2 separate regions of the Homo sapiens genome follow, and region 1 is linked to region 2. Evidence: promoter capture Hi-C in 16 types of primary human blood cells and fetal thymus (Javierre and others, 2016). All regions are on one chromosome and are shown on one strand. Each heading gives the region's core, a stretch centred on a gene start or on the middle of the fragment in contact. The rest is flanking DNA. Distances are from core to core; before and after follow the strand shown.

What was found. Contacts are between HindIII fragments. The CHiCAGO score rates a contact against its expected background, and 5 or more counts as called.
Region 1: a fragment that was not itself captured here is called in contact with the fragment with the promoter of NRDC in region 2 in 1 of 17 cell types (endothelial precursors); the score reaches 6.1 in endothelial precursors.

Annotation. Positions count from the first base shown.
Region 1 is chr1:52,008,758-52,013,130 of GRCh38, forward strand. No RefSeq gene overlaps it. Among named protein-coding and RNA genes, the nearest start is that of RAB3B, 20 kb to the left of the region's middle. The HindIII fragment of the contact is 4,010 bases long and covers 92-4,101 here.
Region 2 is chr1:51,875,352-51,880,076 of GRCh38, forward strand. It overlaps NRDC (nardilysin convertase), which reads right to left and starts at 3,376. Exons shown (of 31, transcript NM_001101662.2): 1 at 2,924-3,376. The coding sequence starts at 3,264. RefSeq lists enhancers at 1,166-1,697, 3,366-3,660, 3,544-3,723, 4,114-4,667 and a silencer at 3,414-3,463. The HindIII fragment of the contact is 5,345 bases long and covers 2,700-4,725 here.

The sequences.
Region 1 (4,373 bases), core at 847-3,346, 130 kb after region 2:
CAGCTACTTGGGAGGCTGAGGTGGGAGGATAGCATAAGCCTATGAGGTCGATCACAGGCTACAGTGAGCTGTGATCAAGCCACTGCATTCAAGCTTGGGCAAGAGAGTGAGACCCTGTCTCAACAAAACAAAACAAAACAAAACAACAACAACAAAGTTTTGAATGCTTTTTCTTAACAGTAATTACTTCTAGAGATATTAGTGCTGAGAAACAATCTTCACATAAAAAGTACCTGAGAGGCTGGGCGTAGTGGCTCCCACCTATAATCCCAGCACTTTGGGAGGCAAGAGGATTGCTTGAGGCCAAGTGTTCAATACCAGCCTGGGCAATATAGAGACACTGCCTCTATCAAAAAAAAAAGTAGCCAGGTATGGTGGCACATGCCTGTAGTCCTAGCTACTCAGGAGGTTGAGGTGATAGGATTGCTTGAGACCAGGATTCCAGCGTTACAGTGAGCTATGATCAGGTCACTGTGAATCGGCTACGTTTTGTCTGGGGTATATACCCTGGGGTTCACTGTCGTGTGCCAGGAAAATTTAGGACACAGACACAAGGAGTTTAAGAGCAGAGGTTTAAAAGGAAGAAAAGAAAGAGAAACAGCTTCCTCTACAGAGGAAGGAGTCTCCAAGTGGCAAAGACCCAGGGGTGGTGAATACACCAATTTTTTTTTTTTCTTTTTTGAGAGGAATCTCACTCTGTGGCCCAGGCTGGAGTGCAGTGGCTCCATCTCGACCCACTGCGACCTCCAGCTACTGGGTTCAAGCAATTCTCCTGTCTCAGCCTCCCGAGTAGCTGGGACTACAGGTGCCCACCATCACATCCGGCTAATTTTTTTATTTTTAGTAGAGACAGGGTTTCACCATATTGGTAATGCTGGTCTTGAACTTCTGACCTCAGATGATCCACCTGCCTCGGCCTCCCAAAGTGCTGGGATTTCAGGCGTGAGCCACCGAGCCCTGCCAGATGCCCCAAATGTAATAGTTAGATTTGAGGAAGTGGTGTCCGATTTACATAGGCCTCACAGATTGGTTCCATCAGGTATGATGGCAGGGAAGGCTGGTTGCCTAACCCTAATCTTATTATGCAAATAGACTTTCCAGTTGATCCGCGCCATCTTGTCTGCTTCTTACTGTACTGTGGCTGGCAGAAAAGGGGAGATGGAGCCGCCATCTTGAACATGTCTAGTTCCTAGTTCCTGCCAGCGTTCCCCTGTGCAAGCTCCCAGCTTGCTTGTCTGTGTCTGCGGCTGGATTTTACAGGCTGCTCTTTGTTAGAAAATGATTTGGGGCTGCTTTTTATTAAAAAGAAAATCCTGACTGCTTGAACCTGGGAGGCGGAGGTTGCAGTGAGCTGAGGTCGTGCCACTGCACTCCAGCCTGGGTGACAGAGTGAGACTCTGTCTCCAAAAAATAAAAAAGAGGCTGGGAGCGGTGGCTCACGCCTGTAATCCCAACACTTTGGGAGGCCGAGGCAGGCAGATCACAAGGTCAGGAGATCGAGACCATCCTGGCTAAAACAGTAAAACCCCGTCTCTACTAAAAATACAAAAAATTAGCCATGTGTGGTGGACGCCTGTAGTCCCAGCTACACGGGAGGCTGAGGCAGGAGAATGGCGTGAACCCATGAGGCGGAGCTTGCAGTGAGCCGAGATTGCGTCACTGCACTCCAGCCTGGGGGACAGAGCGAGACTCCGTCTCAAAAAAAAAAAAAAAAAAAAAAAAAAAAAGAAAAGAAAAGCCTTACTAAGGACTCCCATTCCCTTACTAGCTGCCTAAGTAATTTATTCTTAACTCCTGTATCAACTGTACTTCAGCCTAGGCAACAAAGTGAGATTCTGTATCTAAAAATAATTATATGGGAATAGAAAGCGTTTCTTCATTGCAATGGCATTAAATTCTTTGAACTCTGAGTTATATGCCCAAAAATCACAGCAATCTAATATCAAAAAAACTTTGAGACAAGGCCTCACTTTGTCTGCCCTGCTGTAGAGCAGTGGCACAATCTCGGCTCACTACAACCTCCACCTCTGGGTTCAAGCGATTCTCAGTCTCCGGAGTAGCTGGGACAACAGGCATGTGCCACCACGCCTGGCTAATATTTGTATTTTTATAAGAGACGGGGTTTCACCATGCTGGTCAGGCTGGTCTCGAACTCCTGTCCTGAAGTGATCCACCCACCTTGGCCTCCCAAAGTGCTGGGATTACAGGTGTGAGCCACCCTGCCCAGCCAAATGGATCAGTTTCTAAATCAGACTTTATTTCAGAAATAATTCATTTTGGAGAAAATTGGAATATGTGTTTTAAAATCAAATGTAAAGCTGGGCATAGTGGTTTATGCTTGTAATCCCAGCACTTCAGGAGGCTGGGGCTGGAGGATTGCCTGAGTCCAGGAGCTCGAGACCAGCCCGGGCATCATGGTGAGAGTACTTGTACTTATTGGCCTTATGTGTCTCTCCAGCCTGACTCCATGCTGTTAGCCTTTCCTCACCTCTTATTCTTCCTATTTATTTATTTATTCTGAGTCTGCTTGCTAGAGAACTCTTATTATTATTGTTAGACCAGGTCTCACTCTGTCAGCCAGGCTAGACTGCAGTGGCACCATCTCAGCTCACTGCAACCTCCGGCTCCTGGGCTCAAGTGATCCTCCCACCTCAGTCCCTTGAGTAGAGGGGACCACAGGTAGCTCCGCCACACCCCACTCTGTTTTGTAGAGACGGGGTTTTGCCGTGTTGCCCAGGCTGGTCTCGAATGCTCGTATTCTTTTTTTCAGCCTCTACCGCTCCACTCCAGCTTCTGCTTTCACAATTCCACCCAAATGGCTCCTCTTAGATAAATCCTCTTAATAGGAGGAGATATAGGATTTGGAAGTGAGAGAGGGAAGTTTGGTTGATAAAATCATTTTTGAAATTTGTCTTTCTAATTTATACTTGCATGGATAATCCTTTATTCAACTCCCCAGGCCTATTGGGTACATGTGCCAATAAATATCCTGATAGGCAGCTGGGCAAACTAATGTATTTTTGTACGTTGTTTTAGAACCCCTAAAGGACCAAAAAAAAAAAAAGAAAAAGAAAAAAAAAGAAATAGATTCTGGTAGTCCTAACAGTGATCTTTCTCTCTCTTGCAGTGTTCCTTATCCAATAAGTAAATAGCACCACCCTCTGCTGTTTTACATGCCAGAAACCTGAGACCTGTCTTTGACTTCTTCTAACCTCTCTCCTTAATCATCAGTTATTGTTTATTTTTTCTCTTAAATATTTTAAAAATTCACCTACTCCAGGCCGGCCACGGTAGTTCACACCTGTAATCCCAGCACTTTGGGAGGCCAAGGCAGGCAGATCACGAGGTCAGGAGATAGAGACCATCCTGGCCAACATGGTAAAACCCTGTCTTTACTAAAATACAAAAAATTAGCCAGGCATGGTGGTGCATGCCTATAGTCCCAGCTACTCGGGAGGCTGAGGCAGGGGAATCACTTGAACCAGGGAGGCAGAGATTGCAGTGAGCTGAGATCATGCCTCCAGCCTGGTGACAGAGTGAGACTCTGTCTTAAAACAAACAAACAAACAAACAAAAAATCAAATATATTGAGGTATAAATTACACACAATAAATATTCACATGTCGGCCAGACGCGGTGGTTCACGCCTGTAATTCCAGCACTTTGGGAGGCAGAGGCGGGTGGATCACCTGAGGTCAGGAGTTCGAGACAAGCCTGGCCAACATGGCGAAACCCCGTCTCTACTAAAAGTACAAAAATTAGCCAGGCGTGGTGGCGCATGCCTGTAATCCCAGCTACTCAGGAGGCTGAGGCAGGAGGATAGCTTGAACCCAGGAGGCAGAGGTTGCAGTGAGCCTAGATGGTGCCACTGCACTCCAGCCTGGGCAACAGAGCAAGACTCAATCTCAAAAAAAAAAAAAAAATTCACATGTCTAGTTTATGATTCAATGTATTTTGACAAATATAAACAACTGTGTAACCACCACAATCAACATTTCCATCACCACAGAATGTTCCTTCTGGTGCCTTTGCAGTCAAACCCTTCTCACCCCCATCCCCAATGCCACGTAACCACTGATCTGCTTTCTCCTGCTATAGTTAAGCTTTGCCTGTTCCAAAACTTTATATAAATATACCATTTTTTTGGCCTGTCTTTTCACTCAATATGCTTCTGAAATTCATCCATGTTGTTGCATGTTATCAGTAGTGTGTTCTTTTTCTTTTCTTTTCTTTTTTTTTTTTTTTCCGAGATGGAGTCTTGCTCTGTCACCCAGGCTGGAGTGCAGTGATGCAATCTCGGCTCACTGCAACCTCTGCCCTCCACCTTCCAGTTCCGGTGATTCTTCTGCCTCAGCCTCCCAAGTAGCTGGGAC
Region 2 (4,725 bases), core at 2,126-4,625:
AATAAGCTGAGACACTAAGAAGGACAATGACTTGGCAAAAGCCATATAAAGACAAAAACGCAACAATTTTCAAAGAACAACTCTTAAGCATTATCTACTCTTTGAAGTCTTTCCTTTCTCCCCCGGTGGAATTTATCAATGTATTTCATTCCTCAATATATCTAGGACATACCTCCGTTATGGCTTCTATAAAACTTTAGTGCCCTAGTTTTATTTATTTGTTTTTTGAGACAGTGTCTCACTGCCACCCAGGCTGGAGTGCAGTGGCACGATCATGGCTCACTGCAGCCTCAACCTCTCAGGCTAAGGAATCTTCCTACCTCAGCTTCCCAAGTAGCTGGGACTACAGGCACACACCACCACACCCGGCTAATTTTTTGTGTGTAGAGACAGGGGCTCACTATGTTGCCCAGGCTGGTCTCGAAATCCTGCGCTCAAGTGATCCTCCCAACACGGCCCCCCAAGTGCTGGGATTACAGGCATGAGCCACCACAACAGTCTCTAATTTTTTTTTTTATGTGTCTGTGTCCCTCTCTACTATTGTAAGCTCCCTAAAGGCAGGTACTGGCTCAATCATTTTTGTATATTCACCCAGACTAACATGTTATTTATTACATTATATTTGACCAAGTTTCAGAAAATATTTAATCTAGCTTGGTGCCTAGCACACAGTAGGACTTAACAGGTATTTATCAAACAAATTTACCAAAAATGAGGTCAGTAAATGAAATAACACATCTAAAACAGTTACAACAGTAGCTGAAACACAGTGTAGATTCCATAAATATTAGTTATTATATAACTTTATATAGGCTGGAAAAAACCCTGAAACCATTATTGAACATTTGATCTGGAAGGCAAAAACTAAGCACCTTTTATCAAGTTTTCAACTTGCTCATTTATACATTGCCAATACAGGTTGAGTATCCTTTATCCGAAACACTCGGGACCAAAAGTATTTCAAATTTTGGATTTTTTTGGATTTTGGAATATTTGCGTATACGTAATGAGGTATCTTGGGGATGGGATGCAGTATAAATACAAAATTCATTTATGGTTCATATATACCTTATACACATAACCTGAAGATAATTTTATACAATATTTTTAATAATTTTGTGCATGAAACAAAGTTTGTGTACATGAACCAACCATCAAAAAGCAAAGGTGCCAAGTGTGGAATTTTTCACTTGTGGTGTCATGTTGGCGCTCATAAAGTTTTGGATTTCCGAGCATTCTGGATTTTTGGATTAGGGATACTCAACCTGTACAATCACATCTTTGATGAGAAAGAAAATTTAGCTCATTTATAAAGATCTCTTGACTCTGGCAGCCTGGAGAAAATATATCTAGACTTGAAGTGAAAGGAGAAATTAGGTTGGTCCTGAACTTGGAGCTAAGTGTCATCTGTCAAAGAGGTGTGGTGGGAAGTGGAAAAGATTATCTATAAGGTTGTTTCTTGCGCTAACGCTGTAGGGGCTTATAACAAATTTAGAACTAGAATCCTTCAGCTTTCAATTCACATAAGCAAGAAATTTGTAAAAAATCGGCAAACGGGCTGGGCGGGGTGGCTCACGCCTGTAACCCCAGCACTTTGGGAGAAGAGGCGGGCGGATCACAAGGTCAAGAGATCGAAACCATCCTGGCCAATATGGTGAAACCCCGTCTCCACTAAAAATACAAAAAATTAGCCGGGCGTGGTGGCGAGCACCTGTAGTCCCAGCTACTGGGGAGGCTGAGGCAGGAGAATCGCTTGAACCCGGGAGGCGGAGGTTGCAGTGAGCCAAGATCGCGCCACTGCACTCCAGCCTGGTGACACAGCAAGACTCCGTTTCAAAAAAAAAAAGGAAATCAGCAAATGATACACTGAATTTGGTGTCAGATAGTAGGGGTCATCATACCAGCTCTGTTATTATTTAGCTGTGTGATTCAGAGCAAGAAGCAAACTCTTTGGGTCTCAATTTCCTCAACCTGTTCAACGAAGTTATTGGACAATATGAACTCTATTTAAAATACATCAAAGTCCAGGCCTGGCACAGTGGCTCACGCCTGTAATCCCAGTACTTTGGGAGGCCAAGACAGGAGGATTCCCTAAGCCCAGGAGTTTGAAATTAGCCTGGGCAACATCGCAAGACCCAGACTCTTATTAAAACACACACGCACACACACACACGCAAGATACATCATAGTCATGATACTCCATGAAATAAGCTACCTCTGAAGGAAAATACTCAGGTGGGGACTGAATCACCAATTATTAGAAATGTTTAGAGAACTCCTGTACAAACCAAAAGTAGAGAATTTCAAGGTTAGAAGAAACCTTACAACTCACCCAACTGAGACCTAAGCCCTCTCTAATATATTCCTGGACGAGGTCGCCCAACCGTTTTGGTAATGGAGAACTACCCATGGAAACAAGTCACTTCAACTTAGGCCAAATATGATGCAAAGTTACTTTACTGAAGCCACACCATCCTCTGGTAACTTTCGTCCACTAGTTTCACCTATCACTTAAGTGTCCCTCAAATATTTTGGATAGTGATAATATGCCCCTTAAATATCCTGTCCTCCAAATTAAAGTATCCAACTCCGTCAACCTTTCCTGGTAACATAATACCAAGACTCCCTCACCATTCAGGCTGCGTTCCTCAAAGAAACCTTCATTCTTGCTTTAGCGACTGTATTCAAATGACTCGAAAAGCTTCTCCCATTCTGACGTCTTACAACCCAAGATCTCCCACTTGCCCAGCTGACACCACAGGGAAGCCTCTAATCACGCTTGCCACCTCCACCCAAGGAAGCATTTGGGGTGGAAAGTGTGCCCTGTTGCTCCATTGGGAGACATGGAGACAAGAAGTGACGGCGGCACCGACAGAGAAGCCGGCACACTGTTCGCCTCCCCATTGCAAGCCTCCTCCCTCACCGGTATTGCTTGGGGTCGCTGGGAGACTTGACGATCTCAGGGTCCCCAGCATTACTGAGAGACCCCCTCCGTCCCTCTTCCTCAGATTCATCCGCTCCTAGACGGGCAACCCGGCTGTTCTCGCCCAGATCCTGTCCATTGGGCTGCAGGTCAGGGCAGCTGCAGGTAGACTTCGCCTTGTTCCTTCCAGGCATGGCCAGAATAGGAAAGGGTCTGGCAGCAGCAGAGTCTTCGCACCGACCCCGCGTTTCGATTCCCCAGAGCGCCGCGAGCTCCCGCCCGGCCTCACACAACTTCCTCCGGGTGGCACAGACTGCAGCAACAGTGACTCTCCTCAGCATTCACCACCAAGCTGGAGCGATGGACATCCCGCTTCCCAGGACCCACCTCCTCCGCGTTCTAGAGGCGGTGGCGGCCGGCCCTGGTGCTGCCGCAGCCGCGGGGAACAGGCCTGAACCCCTCCCCCAACCCAGTCTCCCTCTCGCCGACTTCCCTCGTCCCTCCGCCCTCCCGGCCGCCGATGACGCTACTGATTTCAGCCAATCATGAGGCAAGAAAGTAGTCACGCTCACGTAAGCAACCAATCAGAACAGGAAAGGAGAGGCACCAACGTGACCCGGACTGATTCTCGGAACAGCCAGCGAACATTTCGAAACCCAAAGTGGGCGGGGCGAGGGAGAAGAAGCGGAGAGAGTGGCGCGGAGGACGACGGGAGAAGGGCCCCCGGCGCGTTTATGACGTACGAGTGTGTTTTGTGGAAACCACTGAGTAGTGCTCCGCGTGTCAAAGAAAAATATTCCCCTAATGAGAAAACTGAGAAACGAGTGCAGAGAATTAATTCCAAAGTTTTAAATTTTCCCATTCGTGTCATAGTTTGGGTACCCTACTCCTCAGACCCGGGGCGAGCCTTCGGCTGTGACTCAGCACATAAAAAACCAGAACGCCGGAAGTATTTTCCTACACCCGCCGGATGGACGCTGCTCCCGAGCGCCGCAAATACTAATTGGCTCTTCTCTACCCTACAGTCGGCCCGACAGTGGTGGGGTTTCATCCTCAAGCCCTAAGAAAGTGCTAAAAAGACCAGTCTGGATGTGCTAACTCTTCTGTGTGAAAACGTTTTTTAGCTCCTCCAGCCTCCTGTTAAATTCGGCCAATTTTTATCGAGCAGCTGCAGCGTCTGCTGCCTTCAAGTCTCCTTTCCCAGTTTTTCCCGCTAGCAGTGGTCTTTGGTTAGCAATGTAAAATGTGACGGAAATACAAACATAAATGAAAGCTAAAAAGCAGCTGAAATTAGTAAGATGCACTATACTGACACCATGGGGTAAGAGATCATAGCTCATACATACGAATGAGCGGGGAAAGACGTGAAGCAGGGAGATGTGTTGATAGTTACTGTATCTTCAAGGTTTTCGAGGCCTCTTCTGAGTTCCAAATGCAAGGAATACAACCATGAACAAAACAAAACTTGCCTTAGGCTGGGCGTGATAGTGATAGCTCACACCTATAATCCTAGTACTTTGGGAGGCCGAAGCGGGAGGATTGCTTTGAGCCTGGGAATTTGGTACCAGCCTGGACAACATGGTGAGACCCCCGTCTGTACAAAATTCTTTTTTAAAATTAGCCAGGCTTGGTGATGCGTGCATGTGGTCCCAGCTACTCAGGAGGCTGAGGCAGGAGGAACGCTTGAGTCCAGGAGGTCGAGGCTGCAGTGAGCCGTGATTGCAACACTGCACTCCAGCCTGGTTGACACAGTGAGACCCTGTCTAAACAACGACAACAAAAATTTAAAGCCTTGCCTTGGG